Regions from separate parts of the Homo sapiens genome. Here regions 1 and 2 are each linked to region 3. The links are contacts of gene promoters, found by promoter capture Hi-C in blood cells and fetal thymus (Javierre and others, 2016). All regions are on one chromosome and are shown on one strand. The core of a region is centred on a gene start or on the middle of the fragment in contact, and the rest is flanking DNA. Distances in the headings are between cores, read along the strand shown. Region 1 has its middle 14 kb from the start of STK33. Region 2 overlaps TRIM66 (tripartite motif containing 66). Region 3 holds the start of AKIP1 (A-kinase interacting protein 1).

What was found. Contacts are between HindIII fragments. The CHiCAGO score rates a contact against its expected background, and 5 or more counts as called.
Region 1: a fragment that was not itself captured here is called in contact with the fragment with the promoter of AKIP1 in region 3 in 1 of 17 cell types (M1 macrophages); the score reaches 5.6 in M1 macrophages.
Region 2: a contact is called between a fragment that was not itself captured here and the fragment with the promoter of AKIP1 in region 3, in 1 of 17 cell types (M0 macrophages). The highest score is 6.0, in M0 macrophages.

What each region holds. Positions count from the first base shown.
Region 1 is chr11:8,606,213-8,610,254 of GRCh38, forward strand. No RefSeq gene overlaps it. Among named protein-coding and RNA genes, the nearest start is that of STK33, 14 kb to the left of the region's middle. The HindIII fragment of the contact is 1,481 bases long and covers 929-2,409 here.
Region 2 is chr11:8,628,353-8,632,220 of GRCh38, forward strand. All of the region lies in intron 15 of TRIM66 (tripartite motif containing 66), which reads right to left. Among named protein-coding and RNA genes, the nearest start is that of STK33, 36 kb to the left of the region's middle. The HindIII fragment of the contact is 2,756 bases long and covers 653-3,408 here.
Region 3 is chr11:8,908,774-8,912,744 of GRCh38, forward strand. It overlaps AKIP1 (A-kinase interacting protein 1), which reads left to right and starts at 2,416. Exons shown (of 6, transcript NM_020642.4): 1 at 2,416-2,450; 2 at 2,671-2,898; 3 at 3,680-3,760. The coding sequence starts at 2,677. It also overlaps a transcript of DENND2B not described here. RefSeq lists a silencer at 2,181-2,460 and enhancers at 2,551-2,620, 2,631-2,720. The HindIII fragment of the contact is 8,527 bases long and covers 1-3,971 here.

The DNA of each region.
Region 1 (4,042 bases), core at 419-2,918, 300 kb before region 3:
CAATTTAAACCTCATGAATTATTTCTGGAATTTTCTATTTAATATTTTCAGATTGCCATTGACCAGAGGCAACTGAAATCACAGAAAGCAAAGCCAAGGATAAGGGGAGTTCACATGCCCATGCCTTGCTCTCTCTCTCTCTCTCTCTCTCTGTCTGTCTCTCTCTCTGTCTCTCTCTATCCCTCTCCTCCTCCTCCCTCCGCACAGGCTTTGGTGGAAAAGCCACATCCTTAGAATTTTTTCACTGAATCTTATCCAGCTAAAAGATTTTACTGGGCACTATATTCTTAATTTGATATTTTCCCTGAAGTACCTTAATCCATTCAAAGGTTTTAACAATGAATATTATGCCCATATTTTTAATATGATCCTTACCTCAAGGCTGAATTTTAATGGGCCTTCAATTCTAAATTTTATCTTAGTCTTCAGCGTCAAGAAGCAATTACCTCTTCAAAACCCTAAGTCCTTGGATTTTTGTATACTATGTATTTTCTTTCACTCCTTAAAAACAGGGCAATTCTTTTCTGAACTCATGTCTTTCTTGAAATAGCTTGATAAACAGAATATCAACCAATGTAGGCTACCAATGTTGTTTTCCAATATCTTCCCCTCTATTGAAATTCATTAAGTACATGATGTGACTCCAAAGTTATCTCAGACTATAGTTTTGCCAAATGTTTTTCCACTGCATAACCTGAATCACTATCCTTCTAGTCACCAATGTCGGTTTCCTTGCTACCTGCTTGCTAGGCCAGTGCCTTGGATCTTAGTGTTTTGTTATTGATTTTTTTTTCTCCAGAGAAACCCAAGCTTCTTTGTACTATAGGCCAGCCTATGCTGCAGTAATAAATAACACACAATTCTCACTGACTTACAACAAAAGTCCTCATTCATGCAAAATTTGCTGCAGATATGGAAAATATTGCAAAGCTTATATTATCCATGTATTAGCACAGCACACCAGACTGGTTCAGACTTAAGCATCTTCATATCAGTGCATGCTCTCAGAATCACCTCAGTAAGGGAAGAGAGAAAATAAACAGAGAATCAAGCACTGGCTCTTATTCAACCTAGCAATGACCTACATCACTGCCACTCTCATTGGCCAATTCAAGTCTCATAAACACACCTGAAATAAGTAAGTGGCGTGCAGTAGTGCAATCTTCCCATGCACTCAGGAGAGGAGCACTAGAATCATTGGAAGGTAACATTTACGTCTTCCCTTCTGCTGTTGGTAGGATCTTCTCTGTCTTGGGTGTTCTGAAGTTTCACTGCAATACGTTTCAAGTTTCTTTTTATTTTTCAAGTGTATTTTGTTCAACATCTTATAGCTATGAATTCATGTCATTCATCACTTCTGGACAGTTCTCAGCCATTATCTCTTCAAATGTTCTCAATGTCTCATGATGTTTTTAGTGTGTTTAAACCAAGACGCAAGTAAGTTCTATATAGTGCAATTGGTTTATATGCTTTTTAAGACTCTTTAAGGTTTCCCCTCCATCTCCCTTTTTTCCCTTTGTAATGTAAACCAAGTTGTTTGTTCCATCGGTCCTTGGAGACTGGATTTTGCTGACTGGATCCTTGTGAAGTCATTTAAGGTGTTCCTCTATTCTCTGCATTTCCTGTCAATTGGGAATTAATCTTTAAATTGGTAGATGTAGAGACTTGTTTAGGTTCAGATTCTATTTGTTTACAAACAAATGCACACAATGTCTGATCGTCTCTTTTTTGGTGATGTGAGCAGCCACAGATGGTCATTGCCTAGATTCATTCATTGAGGGCTAAAAAATGATATTCTAAATCTATCAGTCCTTCTTCAATTACTGTGGAAAACTTTTTAAAAAGAAACTTCCCTCATCAATTATTTGGTTACCAGAGATTCAGTTTATGTAGGAGAAAGAGGACGAATCCTTTATTAAGCTAATTAATAAAATTTACTTTTTATGTTTTCATTGAGACAGGGTCTCTCTCTGTCACCCAGGATGTATAGTACAGTGGCACAATCATGGCTCCCTGCAGCCTCAACCTCTTAGGCTCAAACGATCCTCCCACCTCAGACTCCCAAAGTGCTAAGATTACAGGTGTGAGCCACCATGCCTAGCCCTAATTAATAAATTTCAAAAGTCACAGAGGCACTGCCTTGGCAGAATCTTTACCATAAAGCAACATTGTCAGTGGGCCACACCACAAATGGGAACCACTGGAACAAATGAGGAGTCCTAGATACAAACAACTGCTTCCTCCAGCATCAGGCCTTAGCCCTTAGGCTGGGGCAAGACCGAGGCTGTGGTGTTCCTGTTTACAAGCATGAAGGAGATACTTATTTTCTCCACGAATGTGGAGCTTGGCCTCCGCAGGTCTTACATCTCTGACATAGCTGGAAATCAAGGGTACATCAATTTCCAAAAAAGCTTAGGAATATCGTCCCAGCCCAGTGAGCAAATAAAGCACTGTTTTTGGAATACTGGTTATAATATAGTTAGTTGCTGTAAAAAACAAAACTAAAAGAAACAAAAAACACCCCAGACTGGGTGCCCACACCTATAATCACAGCACTTTGGGAAGCCAAGGCAGGAGGATCGCTTAAGCCCAGGAGTTCATGGCTGCAGTGAGTCATGATCATGCCACTGCACTCCAGCCTGGGTGACAGAGCAAGAGCTTGTCAAAAAAAAAAAGGGAAAACAGATACTGGCTACAACTGCAGAGCTGTCTCTAAGGATTGGTTACACCCTCTCATTTCTCAAAGCATATTCTGTGCAAGGCCTTCAGGAGTGATGTCTATAGGACAAGGGGTCCCCCTCTCCAACCTGGGCATAACTCCAGGGCCCATGGATAAGAGTGCTTCCCAGAGAACAGGCATTCTTATTCTAGGAAGCCCTACATAAAACATGAAGCTGCACCTACAGTCTGTGGTAAATATAGCTTTTATTGCAAATTTTTGAAATTGTTTTTTATAATTTTGCTTTTTAAATTATTTGGCTAGGAGTAATTCATTTAATTTACATTGGGCTCAGGTTTCTTGGCAATTATCTTGTGTATATAGAATTTCTTATGAAGCGTGAAACTCTAACTTACAAATTGTTTTCAGGTATAACAGAATTTTTATGAAACTTTATGAAATTGTTATAAAATTAACAATTATAGGTTTAACATGATATATAGACGTTTAATAAGACATTTATGTATAATTTGCCATTTTTCATTTTATATTGTTTCAGGACTTTTTTTTTCTTCTTGAGATGGAGTTTTGCTCATGTTCCCCAGGCTGGAGTGCAATGGCGCAATCTCAGCTCATGCAACCTCCACCTCCCGGGTTCAAGCGATTCTCCTGCCTCAGCCTTCCGAGTAGCTGGGATTACAGGCATGCACCACCAGGTGCGGCTAATTTTGTATTTTTAGTAGAGACGGGGTTTCTCCATGTTGGCCAGGCTGGTCTTGAACTCCCGACCTCAGGTGTTCTGCCCGCCTCAGCCCCTCAAAGTGCTGGGATTACAGGCGTTAGCCACTGCACATGGCCAGGAGTTTTTTTTTTTTTTTTTTTTTGAGACAGGGTCTCACTCTGTTACCCAGGCTGGAGTACAGTGGCACGATCATGGCTCACTTCAGCCTCAACCCCCAGGCTCAAAGTGATCCTCCCACTTCAGCCTCCTGAATAGCTGGGTCTACAGGTGTGTGCTACCACACCTGGCTAATTTTTTTTTTAAGAGACAGGGTCTTGCTATGTTGCCCAGGCTGGTCTTGAACTCCTAGGCTCAAACAATCTTCCCACCTTGGCCTCCCAAAGTGCCAGGGTTATAGGTGTGAGCCACAGTGCCTGGCCAGGACTTATTTTTATAGGCCTTTGAAAGATCCTAGACCCTGGATACTATGCCTCTACTCTCTAGTGGATAAAATAATCCATAGGCCAGGTGGGGAGGAAGAGGAGGTCAAATACTGCCCTACCTATGAGAGCAAGACTTGCTCCAGGGAGCTGGCCTGACTAGCAGCTTGCCATGGAACCCAAGGAGTCGGGGGAGTAGAAGGGCTGTGTCCCTAGAACCTA
Region 2 (3,868 bases), core at 781-3,280, 280 kb before region 3:
CTGTAATCCCAGCACTTTGGGAGACCGAGGCGGGAAGATCGCTTGAGCCCAAGAGTTCAAGACCACCCTAGGCAATATGGTGAAACCCCGTCTCCACAAATGATAGAAAAATTAGCCAGGCATGGTGGCATGGGCCTGTGGTCCCAGATTCTCTGGAGGCTAAGGTGGGAGGATTGCTTGAGCCCGGAAGGTTGAGACTGCAGTGAGCCAAGATCGTGCCACTACACTCCAGCCTAGGCAACAGAGGAAGACCCTGTCTCAAAAAAAAAAAAAAAAAAAAAAAAAGAGAGAGAATCCAGATCTTTGGTACCAAAGCTACAACTTAATTTTGACTTGTCTCCCTCCATACCTCTCTGGGCTTACTCCCCTTCACTATCTCTCATATTCTGTTCTATTTCTTTTCCTTCCCCCTCTTCTCCTCTCTCCCTCCTCTCTCATGAGCTCCTTCTCTCTCTTCCTGTCCTGCTTTCTTTTATCATCTCTTTCTCTTCTTTCCCTACCTCTTTCCCTTATAATTTAACTGCTTTAGTAAGGCTTATATTTTCTATTCTTAATTTTAAACACAGATGAGTTAAATATCTTTTATCTCTCCAAAGAAAAGTATGCTTTTTATATTTTCCTTAGTAGTTTAATAGTGTTCAGTTTTTTAAAAAGCTTCCATTTCCTCCACAGTCTGAGTGCCAAGACAAGAAGGGTTGAAGAGAAGCAAGGTGGAAAGAATATTTAAACCAAATTGGGTAAGCTAGGAATGAAGCCCAGCTTAAGGGACCAAGGCCAAAAATCAATGGCTATCTCAAACATGCCCAGGCCTGCATTCCTTAATGTCTCCTTGTTGTCCTGGTTATGCACTACCATAGCTTTCTAATATTCTATATTTCCTTATCTATGAACAAGAACACCCAGTGACTATTTCATTCCGTTTTGCAATATATGACAGTCTAATCCTTTGCACTGGATTCTTTCTCCTTTCCCCTATTTGACATGTATGTTTAGTGTGGTTTTGGCGCTCATTTAATCTACCCATGCTGGACATTGAGAATTATATAGATGTCTCTTCTTAGTGAGATCCTTGTTGCCAAGCATTAAGAGCACTAAAATCCACGTGAGACCACCCAAATAATAATGGTCAGGTGCCATACGTCACAAGATATGCACAAGATAAAATCCCCAAGGACAAAACTTCCCAGATTAGGGGTAGAGATCATATTCGTGGGAAATTGGCTCTCCTGTCCTAATTACCTATTGCACATGTGAGTTAACATAATGATAGGGGAGAGGAAGACATGCAGACTGAGCTGTGGAAAAATTGCGGAAACTCCATGGCAGTTTATTTTGAGGTGAACCTGATGAACCTGGTCCCGTAATGCCCAGAAGACAATACGAGGTCAGCAATACATCCCAAGATATTGCATACTTGACTGATTTATTTCCTTTTCACAGCCACAGCCAATCTCAAGGAGGCCAATGCTATCAGGAGAGGGGGTGAAGCTCTGGTAGTATTAACAAGAATGTGGAAAATTTCCACGGAGGAAGGGACTCAGAGAAAGTGCTGTGAGAAAGCCAGCCCAACCCCATTTTTACAGGCTATGCAGACACAATGGCATTTCTGAAACCTATATATGCTATGTGTTAGTTATTTTTATACTATATCGGCTCTCTAGAGTGAAGGGTTGTAAAATATTAAAACAAAAGGTACTTATTTCATGTACAAAAAGAAAAAGAAGATTTGAGAACCTTCATCCTAGTCTGTTGCTAGTGCTACAAGATGGGTGGGGGCAAGGGTAGGGCCAACCTTCAGAGCAAGGAAAGCAGGCTGAGTCTCCAGGGCCTGGGAGGAGAGGAAGCACTTCTCAAGAGCATGATGGGATTGGAAAAGGGCTTGAGAGCGTGGCCAGGTTGTCTGACACTTGGTGCCACCCATGCAGAAGGGAGCTCACTTGTCAATGGAGATGATACCACCCACCCTCTAGACCCCAGGATTGTTCAGAGGTCAAATGACAGGAGGTGAATGTGTATTTCTAGCTATAAAGTACGTAGAGGGTTATCACTGAGGTTTCTAGGCTGTCAACTGTGTAACTGACACCTTGACTTCATCTTTACATACAAAACCTCTAGATTTCATGAAGGAAAAGGTATATTTTGAGATTCACTACTGAAAATAAACTATTTTCTAGTTCAGAGAGGAAGAGTCAAAATGCCAAAACACATTCACTCTGATAATCAGCTCAGGTCATCTTTGGGAGATGGAGAGAGACAACCCTGAGCCTACAGAGCCCCCTCTTACCTCCCTTAACTAGCATCTCCTCTCGATCCTCGTTTCCCTTCCCCCAAACTGTGTGTCCCCGTCCCTGTCCCTTTCCTCTTGCCTCTTTTTTGTCTCCTTATCTTTGTCTGCCACCTGTCTGACTTATCTGAAATTACCTCACCTATTAATTTAATGGATTCAGTTAACCTATTTAACCTACCTGTCTTTACCATCTAACTTGACAACTTGCCTGACCTACGACTTCCCTGAATTGTCTGACTTTCAACCTCTGCTACTAGTCACCTATGTGACCCTGCACCCATCTAACCTGAATTCTGCTTGACCTGTGCTCTGTCACCTGCTGCCCTCTCTCTCTCCTCACTCTTACCACCCAGATGTGTTTCTAGAGTTCAGTGTGTTGACATTATTATTCTAATGATTGCCACATGGTATTGTCAAAATTCAGATAAAACATTGCTCTTTCATTTTAACAGGAAGGGAAATTGAGACACAGAGTGATTACCTAGATTTCCCAAGCTCATACAGGTCCAAGACTAGGAATCTGGGACCAGCCTTGAAAACAGGCTGGCTAGTCTTGATTCTGTGCCAGAAGCTAGAAAGCTAGTGCCCTAGTAAGAAATGATTGAGAAATCAATAAACAGACACTTAGTGCACATGCCCTGAGTTTAATATAAATTTCAGGTTCTTACAGCAAGATAATATTGCTGGGGATAAAGTAATGCAGATAGGGTGGTGTTCCACATAAATTAACTTTCCAGTTATCTGAAACATACCTCTTTCAATAACAAAATGCAATTGGCTTAAAAACATTATTTCAAATGGGAGTACTTCTAAAACACTTTACACACTCTTCTGTCTTATTAAGCAGAGCATAAGGAGGCTAAGGAGACCATTTCTTAGTGATATCAAGGAATTTGGATGAACCAATAAGTAATTCAGTGATGCTTTCGGGAACTTCTAAGAATGCAGGGCTTAGCTTGTTCTTTCAGTGAATGACCTCATACCGTGGCACTTTTCCAAGTGATGTTTCTTGTCTTCTCCCTTGTTAGCTGCCCTTATAGAAATCTTGACTCCCTGCCTCTACTCTGCTTACTACTATAATGTAGCTAAACTAAAACTTTCCCAAGAAAACCATATATTTAAGCTTGCTAGATCAAGAACACCGGCTAGATACCCACATATGAGTTTATGATTTCCTACAGAATATAATGCATGAGTTTTGTGATGGCTGTTTTTGCTGCTGTTCCAAAGCTTTGCCTCATCACTTCTAGTTTCAGATTTCTGTTCTAGTGGTTAAAGTAATCAGAAACTGACCACTGTGTAAATATGCAATAGAAAAAGGGACCACAGATTTGGGAGTTGTGTCTAGGAAACACACTGAAGGCCTTCAGTCTAGCTAAGGAAACAAGAGAGAGGAAAACAGATTGGTGAATTAAATCCTCAAAATATGTGAATGCGCCGGGCATATCACCTGAGGTCAGGAGTTCGAGACCAGCCTGACCAACATGGCAAAACCCTGTCTCTACTAAAAATACAAAAATTAGCTGGGTGTGGTGGCATGCGCCTGCAGTCTCAGCTACTCAGGAGGCTGAGGCAGGAGAA
Region 3 (3,971 bases), core at 1,166-3,665:
TTCTTGGTATTATAGATTTTATGTGCATTCTTTCCTCTTTTTTATTCTCCTTTAGTCTGATCCACATTCTGTTCTCCACAACTCCTAGGGCAGTGCCTGGCACATACTAATGCTAGCTAAGTCTATGGAGCACTTATCTTTGCCGGGCACTGTGCTAAGCATTTTACAGGAATTATCTCACAGAATCCTAATGGCAACCCAATTCACACATTCAAGGGCTATTTTTAGTCCTTACTGTGACAGACAAAATAGTAAATACTAGATGCACCTTAAACTCTAAACACTACAGATACAGTCCCTTCCCTCAAGAAGCTCAGTCTAAAGAAGTTAGTACTATTGGAATCCCCAGATATAGAGATGAGGAAAAGTGAGGCTCAAAGAAGTAATATGTTTGCCCAGAACCACAGAGCAAAAAAGTGGCAGAGAGCCTGGGCAACATAGGGAGACCCTGTCTCTACGAAACATTTAAAAAATTTGCAGGGCGTGGTGGCTGAAGAAGAGGATCGCTTGAGCCCAGGAGGTCGAGGCTGCAGTGAGCCGAGATCGTGCCACTGCACTTCAGCCTGGCTGACAGGGTGATACCCTCGTTTCTTTATTAAACAAAAAAGAAGAAGAAGGAAGAAGGAAGAAGAGGAAGAAGAGGAAGAGGAAGGAGGAGGAGGAGGAAGAAGGAGAAGGAGAAGGAGAAGGAGAAGAAATGGAAAAAAAAAGATGGCAGAGCCAGAATTCAAACCAGCTCTCCCGAGTGGATATACAGGACCCCATGCACGTACAACCACTATGTTCTAAAGGAGGCACTTGATAAACCCTTATTGAAGGAAATGTTTTGGAATACCAATAAAATGAAAAAAAAATCATCTCAAGAATAATGTAGGGTTTCACTCACTGTTATTCTTTTTTATAAGGGGAAAGCAGGAAATTTGCAAAAGTTAAGTAGCATAGAAGGAGGTCGTATTGGTCGGCTACTACTCACCTGGTACCTGATAATTGCTCATCAAGCCATCTGTTGAGACTAGGTGAGGATGGAGTTTCTCTCCTTTTTCATGAACCACAGAGGAGACTTAAAGGAGGATTTATTTGTGTTCCTTAAAGTGACCCCCACTGAGCGTGTCCCTCAAAGTGGACCTTCCTAAGCATCGGCGCTTTGCTTTGCGCTGGGTGGTGCGGCTGAGTCACTAATTAGCAGTGAGAGCCTGGGCTGTATCTCCTACCAAATAACCAGCGGAGTGGAGTGACAGGTCCTTACTTAAACATGGTTTAAGTAAGCATTCACAGTTCCTTACTTAAACATGGTGCAGTCTTCCTAAAAGATGGAGTCAGACCCCAAGAGAACAGGTCTCCAAAAATATGTGAATCCGTACTTCCCACTGGAGGGGAGAGAGAGCTGCGCTGAGGGATTATGAGAGACCCTACAACTTCTCAGGCGCCCCCTGCCCCGGGGGCCAGGAACATCTGCAGACAGCCCCGCCTCCGTCTCGCCTCAATCCCGAGCTGTTCCCTTCTCCAAAGGCCACCTTGGCAGCCACACAGTTTGGCCTAATCACCTCCTCAAACAAGAGTAGCGACACCCCAAAATGTAGACCAAGCAGAAAGAGGCGCGGGAGGCACTTGCCTTATTCCCCATGATGTTTTTGTTTTGAGACGAAGTCTTCCTCTGTCGCCCAGGCTGGAGTGCAGTGGCGCGATCTCGTCTCACTGCAACCTCCGCTTCCCGGGTTCAAGCGATCCTCCCACCTCGACCCTCCCGAGTACCTGGGACTACAGATGCGCGCCACCACTCCTCCTACTGTGTGTGTGTGTGGACACGGGTTGTCGCTATGTTGCCTACCTAGCTGGTACCCCATAACCACTCCTGGCTAGTGTGTGTGTGTGTGTGTGGACACGGGTTGTCGCTATGTTGCCTACCTAGCTGGTACCCCATAACCACTCCTGGCTAGTGTGTGTGTGTGTGTGTGTGTGTGTGTCTACACGGGTTCTCGCTATGTTGCCTACCTAGCTGGTACCCCATAATTTTTTAGCTCAACAGGAGACCTGCCTTTATACCCACCAAGTTAAGCAGCGCAGTAGCCCTCTAAGGGCCAGCCCCACGCCCAGAGGCTCCTCTGACAGCGTGGACAGATGCCCTGGGCTGCTGGCTCGACTCAGTCCTCAGCCCCCAGCCCCCGACCCCCGACCCCCGGCCCCCGACCCCCGACCCCCGGCCCCCAGCGCCCGGCGCCCCGCCTCCAGCGCTCAGCAGTTAACCAGGCAACTCGCGCGCAGACGCCAAGGCTGGGACGCAGAAGGCGTGTTTGGCCGCCCAGCCGCCCCGCCTCCCCCACTTCTCCCGCCTCTCCCGCCTCTCCCGCCTTCCGCCAATGGCCCAGCTGCGCCGGCGCCGCCGGGAGCGCTAGGCCTGGTCCCTCTTCCTAGAATAGCGTTGCGCGCATGCGCCTTGACGAGTGAGCCGGGTGAGGGGGCTCCCTAAGTAGCGGAAGGGGTAGATGAAAATGGAAGGGGCGGGCGCGCTAGGCCTAGTCCTGGCTGGGCTCCCGCTGGAGTGTGCGTTGGGGGCGGACCAGGAGCGGTGGTCTCCAGGGAGGTCGAGGCTGGGGCTCCCACCCGGATTTGGAGCAGGGTCGCCGCGGCCCAGCTGACCCGCCGGCGTTTGTACGTTGTGTGCCCACTCAGGGAGCCATGGACAACTGTTTGGCGGCCGCAGCGCTGAATGGGGTGGACCGACGTTCCCTGCAGCGTTCAGCAAGGCTGGCTCTAGAAGTGCTGGAGAGGGCCAAGAGGAGGGCGGTGGACTGGCATGCCCTGGAGCGTCCCAAAGGCTGCATGGGGGTCCTTGCCCGGGAGGCGCCCCACCTAGAGAAACAGCCGGCAGCCGGCCCGCAGCGCGTTCTCCCGGGAGAGGTGAGGGTCGCTGTGCCGGGGGCCGCCCCAGTCCTTCGCGCCGCGGTAGCCCGCTGGGAGCCAGGGGTGCGCAGCGCAGAAGCAGCTGAGGAAACCTTCCCTTAGCGGAAGCTGGAAAGGATCAGAACAATGAATGGAAAAGTCCTTTCAAAACGCTTTACATTTGACAGATTCTTGTTGGGTAGCTGTAGAATAACGGTAGTGTTCAGCCCTGGTTGGTTACTTAAAAAAAAAAAAAAAAATTAGCCGGGCGCGGTGGCTCATGCCTGCAATCCCAGCACTTTGGGAGGCCGAGGCGGGCGGATCACCTGAGGTCGGGAGTTCGAAAGCAGCCTGACCAACATGGAGAAATCCCGTCTCTACTAAAAATACAAAATTAGCCGGGCGTGGTGGCGCATGTCTGTAATCCCAGGTACTAGGGAGGCTGAGGCAGGAGAATCGCTTGAACCCGGGAGGCGGAGGTCGCGGTGAGCCGAGATCGCGCCATTGCACTCCAGCCTGGGCAACAAGAGCGAAACCTCCGTCTCAAAAAAAAAAAAAAAAAAAAAATCTTACAGCTATCATCTGATAGTAGAGGAAAGCCTGCAAGCCTGTCTCTTAGATCCTGGATAAATTGCATGTCTATCTTTTAGAGTTGGAATTCTTTCTCAATAACATCGTTCTTTCTGACATAAACTTGCAGAGCCTTTCCAAAAGTAAAAAGGAGACTATTTCCAAAATGGCTTCATTCTCCAGTAGGGAATCCTAGAGCTAACCTGTGACGTGCCATTTATTCAAATAGAGAGAAGAGAGACCCCCAACCCTTAGTGCTTCCTTCAGAACAATGGCTGAATTCATGGACTATACTTCAAGTCAGTGTGGGGTAAGTTGGTGTGAACCAAAACTATGCCCCATCACCTGCTGATGGACCACATTTGGATCTTTCTGGAATTTACGGAGAATCTGGACACTACCTGTTTCTCCTGCCCAGCCTTCACGGTCAGATTGTAATCAGTCAAGGACTTAAACCAGGGGGTAAATCCAAGTTAGAATTCACCCAATAAATGTTTATTGAATGCCTAACCCTGTAGCTG